2 separate regions of the Homo sapiens genome follow, and region 2 is linked to region 1. The links are contacts of gene promoters, found by promoter capture Hi-C in blood cells and fetal thymus (Javierre and others, 2016). All regions are on one chromosome and are shown on one strand. Each heading gives the region's core, a stretch centred on a gene start or on the middle of the fragment in contact. The rest is flanking DNA. Distances are from core to core; before and after follow the strand shown. Region 1 holds the start of GZF1 (GDNF inducible zinc finger protein 1). Region 2 holds the start of CST3 (cystatin C).

What was found. The method cuts DNA at HindIII sites, captures the fragments that hold promoters and counts their contacts. A CHiCAGO score of 5 or more calls a contact.
Region 2: a contact is called between the fragment with the promoter of CST3 here and the fragment with the promoter of GZF1 in region 1, in 7 of 17 cell types (M1 macrophages, M0 macrophages, M2 macrophages and 4 more). The highest score is 10.8, in M1 macrophages.

Annotation. Positions count from the first base shown.
Region 1 is chr20:23,359,275-23,367,076 of GRCh38, forward strand. GZF1 (GDNF inducible zinc finger protein 1) reads left to right here and starts at 2,908. Exons shown (of 6, transcript NM_022482.5): 1 at 2,908-2,963; 2 at 5,089-6,473; 3 at 7,729-7,802. The coding sequence starts at 5,110. RefSeq lists silencers at 2,194-2,283, 2,704-3,193 and enhancers at 2,374-2,633, 4,448-4,507. The HindIII fragment of the contact is 6,657 bases long and covers 2,186-7,802 here.
Region 2 is chr20:23,635,795-23,643,596 of GRCh38, forward strand. It overlaps CST3 (cystatin C), which reads right to left and starts at 2,161. Exons shown (of 3, transcript NM_000099.4): 1 at 1,826-2,161. The coding sequence starts at 2,068. RefSeq lists silencers at 1,696-1,945, 1,976-2,315. The HindIII fragment of the contact is 8,524 bases long and covers 1-2,988 here.

The DNA of each region.
Region 1 (7,802 bases), core at 1,658-4,157:
GTGTGCAGCCTCTGTAAACCGCCAGAATCAGCCCCTGTTCGGTTGTTTCCCATCAGGAAAAAGTTACTGCAGTCAGTCTCTGGTCCAATCAAAGCAGTAATTATTTGTGGAAGTGGTGGGGCTGGGGCAGGGGGCGTGTCAGTCAGCATGTGGAGGTGGATGAAAAGCACATTGTTTGAATATTGCTTATCTAGAGGCCAGTGCTTGTTTGGCTGCCAGAGAATAAAAACCTTGTGGCAGTTAAGGCATAGTTTCTTCTTGAAGTGTAGAGGTGCATGACAACCCTTGCCAGGCATGGCCCTTCATTCTTTATCATTTAGTATTGCCACAAAGAGTCTGTGAGTCTTATGACCTCTATTTTTAAAGCTATTAAGACACTCAACTAAAGCAATCCTTTCAGTATTGAATGGATAAGCTAGCATTATGTTATGCTAGCTAACATAATCGGAGACGGAGTCTCATTCTATTGCCCAGGCTGGAGTGCAATGGCATGATCGAAGCTCACTGCAACCTCCATCTCCTGGGTTCAAGTGATTCTCCTGCCTCAGCCTCCTGAGCATCTGGGATTACAAGTGCCTGTCACCACTCCCGGCTAATTTGGTTTTGTTTTTTTGAGACAGAGTTTTCCTCTGTTGCCCAGGCTGGAATGCAGTGGTGCAATCTCCGCTCACTGCAACCTCTGCCTCCCATGTTCAAGCGATTCTCCTGCCTCAGTCTCCTGAATAGCTGGGATTAAAGGCATGTACCACCTCGCCCAGCTAATTTTTGTATTATTAGCAGGGAAAGGGTTTCACCATGTTGTCCAGGCTGGTCTTGAACTCCTGACCTCAGGTGATCCGCCCACTTCAGCCTCCCAAAGTGCTAGAATTACAGGTGTGAGCCACCGCACCTGGCCTAATTTTTGTATTTTAGCAGAGACGGGGTTTCACCATGTTGGCCAGGCTGGTCTTCAACTCCTGACCTCAAGTGATCGGCCCGCCTCGGCCTCCCAAAGTGCTGGGATTACAGGCGTGAGCCACCGTGCCTGACCACCTTTTTGTAATGCAAAACAAAATCATAAAACACGATTCTGGGCCTGCTGGAGCCATGGGTGAAAACTGCGTTCATTCCAATTTCTTCAAATCATGGAATGCAAATATAGAGAGTCGGCCTAAGAAAGATTTCTGTCACTCATTCATTCTTCAAATATTTATTGAGCACCTACTATGTGTGGGAAGCTGGCTCCTGTTCAGGAAATATAATTAAAAGTACAATCTCCCAACCCTCTTCAGAAAGGTAGTGGAGAAAGAAAACACTTTGTAATTGAATAAGCATTAAACTAGAATGTGATACCCATCACAGGCAATCCATTAAGAGACTGCAAAGACAGAACGAAATCTCACTCTTTTGTGCAGCCAAGCAATCTATTACACACATTTTCAAGATAAACAATAACTAGCTCTCAAGGGAACTTGGCAGCATTTTTCATCACACACAGTTCATCTAACCTGATATTTGGGATGATCCTCTGTGTTAGCCAATTGGCTTTATCTAGAGGAAAAAGAAACTTGTATCTTTATGATATGAGATAATTTTGTAAGTTGGAGCAAAGGGCCCACTGAAGTTAGGCTCCTACTCCCCCATTAAAACTGGGAGACAGGGGCATTAACTCCCTTGATACTTAAAGAGATGGCTCCTAGGTCCTAGAAAAAGACATATCTAGGTTATAAAGCGCACAAAAAGGCCTAACTAGTCTTCAAAAGGATTTATATATTTCAAAGAGAGGAAAAAGTACTTACACTAATTACCAATTTTCTAAAAGTAAATGTTCGAAGAAAAAGGGAGGGAAATCTCATATTTTCAACAGGAAGTAGTAAACCTTATTTTAAATTTGTATTTGTCCTGACAGTCCCCAAACATTACAAACTCAACGTGTCGGTAAGACAAGGCTGAGTTAACTGCTGGCCACAGTAAGGGACAGCATGACCTGGCAAAGCTTTACCAATGGCTGGGAGCAAAAGGCAAGGTCAGTTTATTGAGAACTGGAAGTCTGACTCAAGGAAGGTGTTTCAAAGCGGGCTTTAGTTAGTATTGAGCAAGAATTGGTGGAAACAGCAAGATTTCGAGGAGTCAGCGAATCTTAGGGAATCAATTGTGCTTTCCCCGAAGAGTGGATGGGTCTCTGGGGAAGTTCTGTAGTGAACAAAGCTTTCGCCCGAATGGGAACTCCTGGAAATAAAGCCCTGCAGTAAAGACGGCAGGGTGCGGTCCCGGCTCCTGGCGCGCCGAGCCCCCCAGCAGGGCGGGGGCACCGCGGAAGAAGCGCCCCAGAGGAGAGCGCCGCGCCGAGCCCCGCCTGGCGCCAGTTCTCCAGCGCCCGTGGAGGCATCTGCGCCCCTAGTAGCCAAGGTGAGTACCAGCTCCAAGCCCGGCTTTCCGCGAGGTCCCTCGCGTGGCCACCGTGCCCTAAGGGTGCGCTCGGCCTCGGGGACGTGAGCAGCTCTTAGTGGGAAGCCAGCTGCAGGCCCTGACCGCAGGCTGCTGGGGCCCGGAAGCGCTGGCGCCTTGCGGCCAGAAGCCCGGAATGGACGCGAAAGTGACCACGCGAATCTGACGCTCACGTGACTTTTCGCGACTGGCCCCGCCCCCCTGTGGCGTGCCGCAGCGCAGACGTCGCTGTCTCCTGCGCAGGCGCAGGCCTTGGCTCGCGGCGGGTGACGCAATGCGGCGGGTGACGCAATCCGGCGTCGCCAGTCAGTCGCGCGGCCAGATCAGGTAACTGCCCGAACCGCTCCGCCGCCCGACGTGTGGCTCAGCCCCTTCCTCAGCCCCGCCAGGGGCGGGGCCGGCCGCGGGAGGGGAGGGGCCTGCAGCGACCAATCGGCGGTGCCCGCGCAGGGTGCTACGCCACGCCCAGCCGGGCCGGCCGTTCCTACCGGCCTGGTCCAGCGGACAGCGGCTGCAGCGGGGGCGCCGGCTGGGAGGTGAGTGCGCGGCCCGTAGGCCTGGCTCCGGCCCCTCGCCGCCCGCCGCCGCCTCTTTGTCCGCGCGCCCCGGCTGCTCTGTGGACCTGCGCGTCTCGGGGATGCGGGAGCGGGGGCAGGGGGCGGCCCGAGGGCCTGATCCACGCGGCCCCGGATGCCCGCGTCGGGAGGCGGCGCGTCGGGCCGAGGAGGGGCTTCTCTGTGGCTGCAGTAGTTTGTTCTCTGGGTCGTCTTTGGAGTGGCCGAGCGGCGTCCGGGCGCTGGGGCGGCCAAGTGGCGCGGGAAGGGTGGGAGGTGCCGTGAGGGCGGCGAGGACAGCGGCGGATTTAAGCCCCACTGGAAACCCCGGCCCTTGTGGCCGTGGACTGGGCTGCGGGTAGCAGCGTCTCCTGGAAGGGCTCTGGCCCCGTGAGCCTCGGGGATTCAGGGGCCGCCGACGTTGGTGCAGATGCCGGGCGCACTGGGAGGCGGCCGGAATGCCAATGAGATTCGGCGGATACGCAGCTGTCACCGGCCGCAGACTGCCCTGTCGCCACCTCCAGTGCCTGCACTCCAGTAGCCAAGCAACATAGGAAATCGCGCTCAGAACCCACTTTGTTGATTGAGAAATCAGGTCTCCTCGAGGGCCCTGTTGGCAGAGGTCTGGGGAAGTCAGGGCATCAGGCTGAGAGAGCCCTCTGCAGTCTTGTTTCCCCAGGCTGGGGCTGGGACCACTGAAACCCCAGTGGCTCTATAAGAGCCCCACTCTTATAGATCCCTTCCTTAGGCTTTGTCAGTGTTCTCACAGTTTTACTGGGGCGTCTCCTTCAGGCGACATTGATCAAGCCTCATAGGTACCTGTTTACAGCGGAACTCCCAGAGGGCAGTCTTTTCCATGTTTGAGGGACTGCTAGTTGTGGGGAGCGGTCTCATTGATGAGACTGGAGAAGGGGAGAGGGGTGGGACTAGTTTATCAGGGAAGATGATGACAACTTTTTTTCTAGACACGTTGAATCCGAGGTGACATCTGTGGTCTGGCCGAAGGAGGCTAGAAGGAAGGCATGTGCTTTGGATGGATGGAAACAGGAATCAAAGAGGAAGGTAGATTCAGGAGCTGAAGGGCAGGGAGAAAACACATTCAGGGAGTTTGTGGCAAAGCAGCAGAAATGACGATGGGGTGACGGTATCTGGAGGCCTTAGGTGGGGTTGGTGAAATTTGCATGCCCGCTGCAGTGGAAAGATTTAGGGGCTAAAGATAGCCCTTTGCCTTTGGCAAGGCTGAGGGGAAGAGTGTGTTGAGTAGTCTGAGTTGAATCCGGGCACCAGGCCCTGGCTCATGTCCCAACCAGCCATTGACTGTTACCTTGATAGGTCCTCATCTATGAAATGGGGATCACTGTAGCACCTTGGCCTATGTGTGGGAAACCAATAAACTAGCCAACAAGTTTCAGGCTCATGGAACCCTGGTAACAGCCGGTCAGCCTTCTTCAGAGGAGGAAATGGGTTCAGAGAAGTTGCTTGCTCAAAGTAGCACAGCTTGTAAAAGCTGTGGAACTTAACATTATTTCAGTAGAGTAACAATAATTCAAATTCTGAGGAGTTTAGGATGTTGGGAATGGGCGATGAATTGTGAACTACTTTTCCAAGAAGTTTTCCTCATGGAAAGTAGTTATTTAGTTGGTTCTTTTCAAAGGCAGAAATGATTCCCTGAGGTTTTGGATTTGCTCCCAGATGGTGGTGGCTATGTGTTTTAATTATCTGGTTTCCTGATCAGAGAACTAGACATTATTGTTGCCATGAATTCTTTTACAGTTTTGGGGACTATGTAAGCAAATTAGACAGTGACCTTGGTGAGCAAATTACTGTGTTAATGTATTTCACTAATCACAACTTCCATCATTTGTTTATCACTGGAGGAAACCTTAGAATACACTATTTTTCATGCCAATTTATTACCTTAGGAAAATGCATGAGGAACCTCACTTTAGAAAACTGCTAAGAAGTAAAATGTCATTCGAATCTTTACCTGAGTAAAGCTAGGTTGTTAATGAGTCTATATCCTCTCAAGTACTGAAGGAATCCTCATAAATTTTAGTCCTTTTGCATCAGTGGTTGCTCATGCATAATTCTTGTTTCTTTTTCAAAGCTGTTTTTGGAAGGAAGAAAGATGGAAAGCGGTGCAGTTCTGCTGGAATCCAAATCCTCCCCATTTAACCTACTGCATGAGATGCATGAGCTTCGCCTCCTGGGTCACCTGTGTGACGTGACAGTCAGCGTGGAGTATCAGGGTGTCCGCAAAGACTTCATGGCCCACAAGGCAGTGCTGGCTGCCACCAGCAAGTTTTTTAAGGAAGTGTTCCTTAATGAGAAGAGTGTGGATGGTACTAGGACTAATGTCTACTTAAATGAAGTGCAGGTTGCTGACTTTGCTTCATTTCTTGAGTTTGTCTACACTGCAAAGGTACAGGTGGAAGAAGATCGGGTGCAGCGAATGCTGGAAGTGGCTGAAAAGCTGAAATGTTTGGATTTATCAGAAACTTGTTTTCAATTAAAGAAACAGATGTTAGAGTCAGTACTTTTGGAGTTGCAAAATTTCTCAGAGTCTCAGGAGGTGGAGGTGAGCAGTGGCTCCCAAGTTAGTGCTGCTCCTGCCCCCAGGGCAAGTGTGGCCACCGATGGCCCTCACCCCAGTGGTCTCACGGATTCCTTGGACTACCCAGGAGAGAGAGCCAGCAATGGCATGTCTTCAGATTTGCCACCGAAGAAGTCCAAGGACAAACTAGACAAGAAGAAAGAGGTAGTTAAACCTCCCTACCCTAAAATCAGGAGAGCTAGTGGAAGGCTGGCTGGGAGGAAGGTCTTTGTGGAGATCCCTAAAAAGAAATATACGAGAAGACTCCGAGAGCAGCAGAAAACTGCTGAGGGTGATGTGGGGGACTACAGGTGTCCCCAGGACCAAAGCCCGGACAGGGTGGGCACGGAGATGGAGCAGGTTTCCAAAAATGAGGGTTGCCAGGCAGGTGCTGAGTTGGAGGAATTGTCAAAGAAAGCAGGGCCGGAGGAGGAAGAGGAGGAGGAGGAGGAGGACGAAGAAGGGGAGAAGAAGAAGAGCAACTTTAAGTGCAGCATTTGCGAGAAGGCGTTTCTGTATGAGAAGAGCTTCCTGAAGCACAGCAAGCACCGCCACGGCGTGGCCACCGAGGTGGTGTACCGCTGCGACACCTGCGGCCAGACCTTCGCCAACCGCTGCAACCTGAAGAGCCACCAGCGCCACGTGCACAGCAGCGAGCGCCATTTCCCATGCGAGCTGTGCGGGAAGAAGTTCAAGCGCAAGAAGGACGTGAAGCGGCACGTGCTGCAGGTGCATGAGGGCGGCGGCGAGCGGCACCGCTGCGGCCAGTGCGGCAAGGGCCTGAGTTCCAAGACAGCGCTGCGGCTGCACGAGCGCACACACACGGGAGACCGGCCCTACGGCTGCACCGAGTGCGGCGCCAGGTTCTCGCAGCCGTCCGCGCTCAAGACGCACATGAGGTACGCGGGGAGCCGTCCGGAGGGGTCCCTGCGCACTGGAAGGGTGTGTCAAGCACTGAGGTCGTCCTGGGATTTGATGTCTCACTGCTTAATTTCTCCGCTCCAAACCTGGGGGCTTATTTCGAGACAGCGTTTAGTTCTCTGTCAAGGTACAGGGGCTGCGAGTGATGGCTCTGCTCCCTTGTTCTGAGACCCCTGGGGCGCCCCTGCTGGCCGGGACGTCCCTCTGGTGGGACCGCGACAGCGGCCGCGGGCTCGCCCCACCGTGCTGGAGGAAGAGTTGGGCCTCGTTACCTTTATTTCTCCTTTCCTGACTCTTCGTTTAGATCTTGGGGTTCTGTGACCATCCGGGTCCCACAGTCTCAGTAGAGACCTCAGTGAGATGCCATTTCAGGCTTTAGGACTCGTCTCTGGTCTTTTGGTTCTCAGGCTTGGAAGGAGTGCCATCTAGGCAGTCTGCACTCCAGAATCAGGACAGACAGTGCTTTCTGTTTCTTAATATGTTTCTGAGCTGCAGGTGTGTGGTGATGTTTTTAAATAAGTTTTCTTATAGTTCTTAGTATATTTATTCTTGAAATCCCAACAAGCAGTTGTTTTCTCTTCTCTTCTAGATCTGCCCTCAAACCTAGGTCAGTCTTGGGTTAGCAGCATGGTGTTCATTTTTTACTCTATATAATAAGTTAAAAATACTTGGTTTAGGAAGTGCTCAGTAAATTATGTTTGATTGCTACTTCATACTAGTTGTGACATTAAAATGCTTATGCATTTTAAAAATGCCACCTTCGGCAATTTGAGAACAGTTCTCCTTTCTCTACTGGTGATGTCATATTAGGAAATGAGAGTAACATTTTTGATCATGTGACACTTAATCAGCAGTAGTTCCTAAGGTGTTTGTGGCTGATTATTCTGTATGAGACAGCTTTACAAATATCAGATTGTGGTCTTTAGTGTTTAAAAAAATCTGCAAAGGCCTGGTCTCTACCTGCACATGCCTTATAGCATCAGCAGTAGGGCTTGTGATCAGGTGTAGATGAACATTCCAGTCAGTGATTTATGGAAAATGTGTGGATCCATTGACCTTGTGCAGAAACTCAGTTTATTTTGGGATGGAGATTATGGGCTCTTGACCTGTCACTACAGTCATTCTCATTAGGTCTCTTGGAGTAAACGATTTTTGCAGGATAGAGTGGAAATTGTATTGCAAAGTGAGCTTTGAAATACATCCTAAGTTATCATCTGAATGTTGTACTTTCAGAATTCATACAGGGGAAAAACCTTTTGTCTGTGATGAATGTGGTGCAAGATTCACTCAGAACCACATGCTGATTT
Region 2 (7,802 bases), core at 911-3,410, 280 kb after region 1:
TGATGTTTTAGGCCAATAAACATTGCTTCCCACGTGCTTCCATTCCAGGTGTGATTTTCAAGGCAATATTTCTAAAGTGAGTCACACACCTGCATGTCTTAGGGTTGCAACTTCAGAAGAGAACTGAATGCTTTCCCTGCACAGTGCCGCCCCAAAACATGACTTGTCAGAACTGTGGAGAAGCATGGGATGAGGGACCCTGGGACCAGGGTGCTAGACCTTGCCCTGTGGAACCACACACAAGTCCTGTAGAAGCACAAGCAAGGCCTGTGATCCCTCTGGTGTCAGTCTGCTCCTCTGTAAAATAGGCTCCAGGGCCCAACGATCTACAATGCCCCATGCTTCACTCCCAGTGAGAGAGAGGTGCAGGCCAGCGGGGACCCTACACCAGGGAATGGCCCTCCTGTGCAGGGAGAGGGCCCCAGCTGACGGCTGCGGGAGAAACGCGGCTGGTCTGGACTCCTCTGAATTTCCAAGAGAAGGTGGAGGAGCTCTAAAGTCTGTGTCACTGTTCGCTGCTCTGCCATGGGATGCAGGTCAAGCTGGGCCTGGTAGCCCTACTGAAGCTCCCTCCCGATCCGACCCCCTACTCCGGTCTGCTGGGTGTCTTCATCTGGCTGAGGTCTAACTCTGCATCAGCTGATAGAGGCAGGGTCAGGCATGCTCCACCCCAGCAGGGACTCAGCTGCCCTGGGATGTAGGGGGTGGTCAGCCGGCCTGAGGGTGAAGGCCGCTAGTCCTAGGGGACTGTGCCCAGGGGTGTGACTTGGGGAGGGAAGCAGGGCTCTGCAGGACAAGGTGCCAGGCTCACGTGTGGCCCCTGCGGAGAGTATTCTGGGAGGAGGATGAGCCGCATGGCCTAGATCTCATCTTGAGCAGCATCAAGCCCACCCAGAGTCAGCATAGTCTCCATCCACACCTGCTAGACCCTGGGAAATGGCACGGTCGTGGCACAGACCCAGCTGCTGCTGCAGGTTAAAAGAGGCCGAGGGGACAGGACAGGGCTGAACTCATGCACTCATGGCCCAGGAGCGTCCTAGGGCACGAAGGCCGTCAACAGACAGGGAAAGCTGAATGAGTCTGAGCATTAGATCATGAATGTGTCAGTGCTGATTTTCAAAATGGAATAGTGATTATGTGCGATATTGCCCTTGTTTTTAGGAAAAACACACTGAAGTGTTTACTTTCAAAAGATTCAGGCAAAAAATGCATATACAGTACATATACACACACCCATATTCACATTCGGAAAGTGAGCTGGGGGGAACAAACAGGGCAAAATGTTAACATCTGTGCTAACATCTGAGGGATCTGGGTGAAAGATCTACAGGGATGCCCTGTGCTATTTTGCAGCTGCTCTGTAAGTCTGAAATTACGGGAGAATAAAAAGTTAAAAGAAACAAAAGTGCTTAAAAATTATTTGGTGGAAGAACAAGGAGGCAGCCAGATGAGGGGCTCTGTTTTTCCTTCTCCTGCGTATTCAGCAGCGCACCCGGAGCCCAGCGTCCCAGGAGGTCGGGACAGAGCTGTGTGGGACGTCCTGTGCCTGCCCCCGCGCTGCGGCGCAGCTCGAGCTGGCTCCTGGAAGCTGATCTTAGGCGCCGGGCGCGGACCTGACGTGTCCGTGCGGTTCCAGGCCAGGCCAGACTCAGGGCATTCCCGGACACGCCCGCCAAGGGCTCGGGGGTGACAGCGAAGACCGGGAACAGGGTCCGGGTGAGAAGCCCAGGCGCCGGAGAGGAGCAGCACGGGGTCCGGGAGCAGCGCGGGGGGAGGCTGGGACGGCGGGGCCGGGGCTTCGGACCCTGCGGGGGGCGGCACGCACCTGCTTGCGGGCGCGCACCACCTGCAGCGCGCGGCTGTGGTACATGTCGTTGCTGGCTTTGTTGTACTCGCCGACGGCAAAGTCCAGTGCACGCCGCACACCCTCCTCCTCCACGCTGGCGTCCATGGGGCCTCCCACTAGGCGCGGCGGCTTGCCGGGACTGGAGCCGGCCGCGGGGCTCACGGCCAGGGCCACGGCCAGGATGGCCAGCAGGAGCAGCGGGGCGCGCAGGGGCCCGGCCATGGTCGGCTAGGACGCGGGACGCGGGGAGTGGGGCGCAGGCGAGAGGCTGGAGCTAGATAGAGAGGACCCGCTGCGATACCGAGGCGAGGCCGTGAGCCCCGCGAGGCCGGCGACTGCGGTTTTATCCCTTCCGGCCTTCGCCGCCCCACCCCACCGCGGCCTGCACTCCCTTTTCCGGAACGCCTCGTCCCTCCCACCTCCCTTCTCCCTCCCCGCCTCCCCTGCCTCTCCCCGCCTCCCCTGCCTCTCCCCGCCTCCAGGTCCCTCCCTATCAGTCTCCTCCCATCCCAGCCTCCCCTGCCCCTCCAGGCTTCCCTGTCCTTCCCCATCCATCCCCTTCCCTCCCCTCCCAGCCCCTCCCGGCCTCTCCTCTCCCTTCCCGCCTCCCCTCTCCCTCCCCTCCTCCCCTGGCCCCCCAGTCTCCCTGGCCTTCCCTATCCATTCCCATCCATCCCCTCCCCTCCCCTCCCCCTCCTCTCCTACTGTCTTCCAGCCTCCCCTGCCTCTCCTATCCTCCCCATTCCTCCCCATCCATCCGACCATTCCCACCTCCCCACTTCGGGCCCCTCCATGCCGCCACTCTTCAGGCTCCTTCTCCTCTGTCCCTTTCCCCTTTCAACCCCCAGACACCGCCTCCCATGCCCCTCATCTCCCTCCTCCACTCCTGTCCTTGCTCCCACTTCGCCCCCACCCCAGCTCGGCCCCTCTTCATCGCCCCTCCCTCGTCCCGCCCCTCCTCTGTCTTCCCTTCCTACCCATTCCTGGCCTCTCCCTGTCCCTGTCCCTCCTATCCTCTTCTTTCCCCTCTTCTCACCCCACTCCTGGCCCCTCTTCCCCCACCCCTTCCACACCTATGCCCCCCTTCTACCCACTCCACCCCCTCAGCTCCATCTCTTCCCAAAGACCTGTCCCTCCTCCCAAGCTTAGGTCACCCTGCCCTCCAGAGAGGTGTCAAGGCCCCCTGGGCCCTAAAAGCATACGACCCCCTAGCTTCATTTCCTCAGAAAAGGGAAAGATAGAGGTCTCGGCCTTCCGGAGTCTTCAGAGGTCCTGAGTATCCGTGAGCATTTGGTCAAGGTCTAGAAATCACTAAGGCAGAGGTGTGATTCCAGAGGCCACAGGAGACTCAGGCCATGCCCTGTGCTAGGGAACTTTTCAAACAGAAGAATTAACCTTTATTTGAGTAAAAAACTCTGGGTTCTCCTTTCACAACTCATTATTCAGTAAACAGACTTTTCACCAGCTTCCCCCTGCACCAGGTAGTCTAGGAGCTAGAGACGGAGCCTGGGTGACCGAGCCATGGACACTACATTGCAGGGCTGCTGCCAGACAGAAATGTGACACGAACCCAGGAGCAATTTAAAACTTTCTGGGAGACACATTTCAAAAAGTAAAAAAGAAACAGGTGAAGGTAATGTTTATAATATTTCTTACTTAACCTAATATATCCAAAATATTATTTCAACACATAAGAAGAATCATTAATAACATAGGTTATTTTATTTTGGGTGTGTGTACTGAGTCTTTGAAATTCCCTGTGTATGTGGGTGTCAATTGTACTGGCCCCATTTCAAGCACCCTGTGGCCACATGTGGCTGGTGGCTGTGGCACTGCACAGCCCAGCATTAGGGTGTGTGGGAGGATGGCGAATAGTGATCAATAATTAATATCAGGAAATTAGTCTCTCTGTTGGAAGTGAGAGTATGGGATAGAGAGAGATGATGCCACTGGACCTGGTCAGGGAGGACTCTATGAGACTGGAAAGGTGAGAAGCCCTGCCTAGACAGGAAACAGCCCCAGGCAGCGGGAAGGGCCAGTGCAAAGGCCCTGAGGCGGGGCTGGGCATGCCTGCTCCAGGAAGAGGAAGCTCCTGGAGGGAGTGTGAGCAGGGAAGGGAACGATCTGGAGTCTCATGGTAACTGTGGGTGGGGCCGGGTGGAAGGTGCAGTGAGACCCATTGGCAGGCAGTGGGGGTGTCAGGAGAGGGAGCAGCAGCCACAGGATGAATGTGGGAGCCCACGGGTGTCTCTTGCTCCTCCCCTCTGGGCGTCATGCTGCTGGCGCTGGTCCTCTGCACTGCTTGGAAAACTCACCTGAGTTTAGAACATCACTGTGAGTGAGGTAGAATTTATAGACAACAAAATGTCTAATCTGGGGGATTTCATTAACGCATATACCCGTGTTACCACTTTGTCCAGACCTGTGACATCTGCCTTGCCCCAGACGGTGTGTCCTCCTGCCTCTGCAGCTCACCCTCATGCCCATCCTGCCCTGGCAGCCCCCATCCTGCCCTATAGACTCGTTTGTCGCCTGTCCTTGAGCTTCCCAGAAATGGAGTCCTGCAGAGCAAGCCTGGGTGTGTCTTTGTCCTTTGCTCAGTGTGGCTTTCCAGTGGGCCCTGAGTTCCTTCATTGCCAGGATTGTGAGTTCTTCTCCCCAGACTGAGAGGACCTGATCAGCTGGGTGCCCTGTGGGGTGACAAAGTCCCCAGCTTGGGATGCTGCGGACCTGGGCTGGAATGTGACTCCAGGAGTGGCGAGGGTGGAAAGGAGGCTCTGAACAGACAGCTGCTCCCTTTGTTCTCTCAACCCCACCCTCCATGCCTGAAGGTGACCCTGTGGCAAATGCCCTTATGGCGAGGTGGCAGCTTTGCCAGAAACACCAGAAAACTCTGGGCCTTTGCAGGGCACCCAGAGGACTCTCCTGGGAGTGGTGGAGGTGAGGGTCAGCCAGGGTCAGCCCAGACCTGCTGTGATCCTGGGGCTCCGCCATGGCTGGGGCTGGATCAGCAGGAACCCGGCAGCGGGAACAATATTACTCATGGATGCTCATGTTCAGTGGTGGGACAGGGGACCTTGTTACCCGAGGCCCAGTGACCATCTCACCCCACTGTCAATCCAGCGTCCCTAGAAAAGCCATGCACCCCAGCAGATACAGCAGGTGGCCCAGATGGTGTTTACTGCTGGGTGAGGGAAGGAAGGTCTTCAAACAGGGTTGCGCATATGCCTCCTAGTTAGACAGGAAATGGGGAGAGATTTTCAGAGAAGGGAAAGAGAGGGCAGCCCCTGGCCAGGTGCTTGTGAGCAGAATGGTCATCTCCCAAGTGTGGGAGTTGGTTCTTCTCTGTGGCTCCCACCTTCCCTGGCCACTGGGGCTCTAGTCTCAAGAGGATGTGTTGTGCAGAGGGTAAGCTGAAATACACACAAATCCCCTGTCTTTTGTCATTAGGAAGGACGTGCAGGTCACCCAAATAGCAGGAGCATGGTGGTAGGTGGGGTGTGAGGTGGGAGCTGAAGTGCTGGCCTATTTCCCTGTATGTGATTCCACCGCCGGTGGTCATCCTCTGTCAGGACGTGCCCTGCAGGCACATGCTGCAGGGAGGGTCAGCTGGCCTGATGCAGCGACCTCTCTAACCCTTGTAGGACAGACACCAGTGTAGGGTGCTCTCAGGAGCTGCAGGAGCCGTGTTCAGTATGCTGTAATAGGAAGTGAAAGGTTACAGTAGCTGGGCAGCTGCTCCTGATATTTGGTGACCTTGAGCAAATGTTTTGCCTTCTCTGTGGTCATGTGTCTGGAGAGGTAGACTGCCTTGTAAACTGTTGTGCCTGGGCATCAGTGATGATGTTTAAACACGATTAAAAGTAACAGAGCAGCCTACAGCTTCAAAGACATGCTACAGAGACACAGAGAGAAACAATGGACCTAGGACTGAGCCTGGGGCCTCCAGCACCCATGTACTTGGAGGAGTCCAGCTGCCCAGGAGGGGGCATATTTCCCTTCTGCCAGGTGATGAAAGAGAAAGCCGTGGTCTCCCAGGCTGCCTTTTTGACTATTGATCTCATCATCTGAATTAGTAGAGTGAGAAATTAGGTAAATGGCAGAAATTCTCTATAATAAATAAGCAATAATAACAACACTAAACAATGCTATAATAAATAAATGACCAAACACATAAACAGCACCTAAAGGTGCAAGTGGTTAAATCAAGTTGGCCAAGAGTTGAGATTCTGCACTTTGGGTTTTGAGCAATTATCACTCGGTGTCTATAGAGGGAGCTTGGACTGAGCAGCCACGGGTTTTGGTAGCCTCTCAAAGGCAAAGCCCAGGAGCCTTCCTTATGGAGTGCCCGGAGTCCTCTGGGGTCAAGCCTGTCCCTTACACACAGGCTCCCTCCTTCTCCCCTCTCTCTCCCCAACGATGGAGGAAATGCAGATGCTTCTAGACCGTAGGCCAACATTGGTAATGCATTTGGCTCCAATAGAGATGAAGCCACATCATTAGGAAACTGATCCGCACTGGGAAGCCTGCTGGCAGCCTTGCAGACTGAGGCGAGAAAGGGCAGAGCCCGGTGTCTGCGGCCCATTTTGCACTTCATGGGGGGATGAGAATCCTTGGGACATTTCTGCTCAGGAGCAAATGTGTAAACGGCGCTCATCATTTTGGATTACAGGGTTAACATTTATTTTCTCAAGGAGTGCATTCACCAGAGCAGAGCCAGTGACTGAAGAACCACATCTGAGTGGAAGGGAGAGAGAGAGAGGCCTCCAGGGACACAGGCTGCTGGCTGGTGCTGCCAGGGCTCCACCTGACTCCCTGCAGAGGCCTGGCCACGAAGAAAACAGATGGCTCTGAGGGGGTTGAGCAATCCCTTTGGCATCTCTGAGTGGTCAGTTTACTTTCTAGACCCACGTTCTTGTAACATTCCCCTCTTAGTGTTTCTGCAGCCTTGAATATCAGTTCCCTTAGCAGAGTTCAGTGACCCGGGAGAGTGGTTCCTGTTCCTGCCCAGGATCCTGCTAAGCTGACTCACTGGGTGCTGGAGCTGGAGCCCCAGGCCTCCTGCTGCATCTTGTCAGAATCCTGCTAGGTTAGTTAAGCCAGCACTCTCTTCCCTTGATGTCTGCTTAGTAACTTTCCACCTGCTAACACCACCCCTCCACGCCATGTTCCTTGGCTGTAAATCCCACTTATTCTTGTTGTGTTCAGGGTTGAGCTCTGTCTCTCTCTTATTGCGACGGTGTTGACCCCCAGCGCGACGGTCTTGAATCAAGTCTCCATTACCATTTTAATAAGTGTCTACAGAATATTTTTTTTAACAGTAGAAGCCAGCCAGGCCAAAACTCTGCCCTACCAGAAAATCCTGTTGCCAAGTAAGAGTAAGGGGCTTGGAGGACTAAAAGCAAACAAAAAATGGGAAGAGTGCAGATTGAGCGGGGGTGATGGGAAAGGGATGGGTGTAGGGTAAGGTGGGGCTGTGGGGCTGTGGCATGTGTTTCCCCGAATATTTTATTATGAAAATATTTAAACATTCATCAAAGTTAGAGTAATTTTACAGCAAACACCTATCTACCCACTGCCATGATTCTGTCATTAATATTAGACTTCTTTTTTAATCTCACCTATCTACTGCTCTGTCCGTCTAAGCATCCTCAATCTGTCTTTTTAAAAATGCATTTTGTAGTAGGTTGCAGACATTAGTATACTCCACTCCTAAACACGTGTTAGTATGCGTATCATTAACTAGAGCTCATCATTTATTTATACCTTTTTCATTTGTTATAAAATGTACCTATAGTGAAATGCACGAATCTGAAGCATACATTAACTAAATTTTGACGAAGTCACCCTCTGTCAGATACAGAGCATGATCACCCCCAGAAAGTCCCCGTGTCCCCTTTTCCAGTCAATTGGGGGCCTCACTTCTGAGACAGCCACTGCACCAATGCTTCATTTA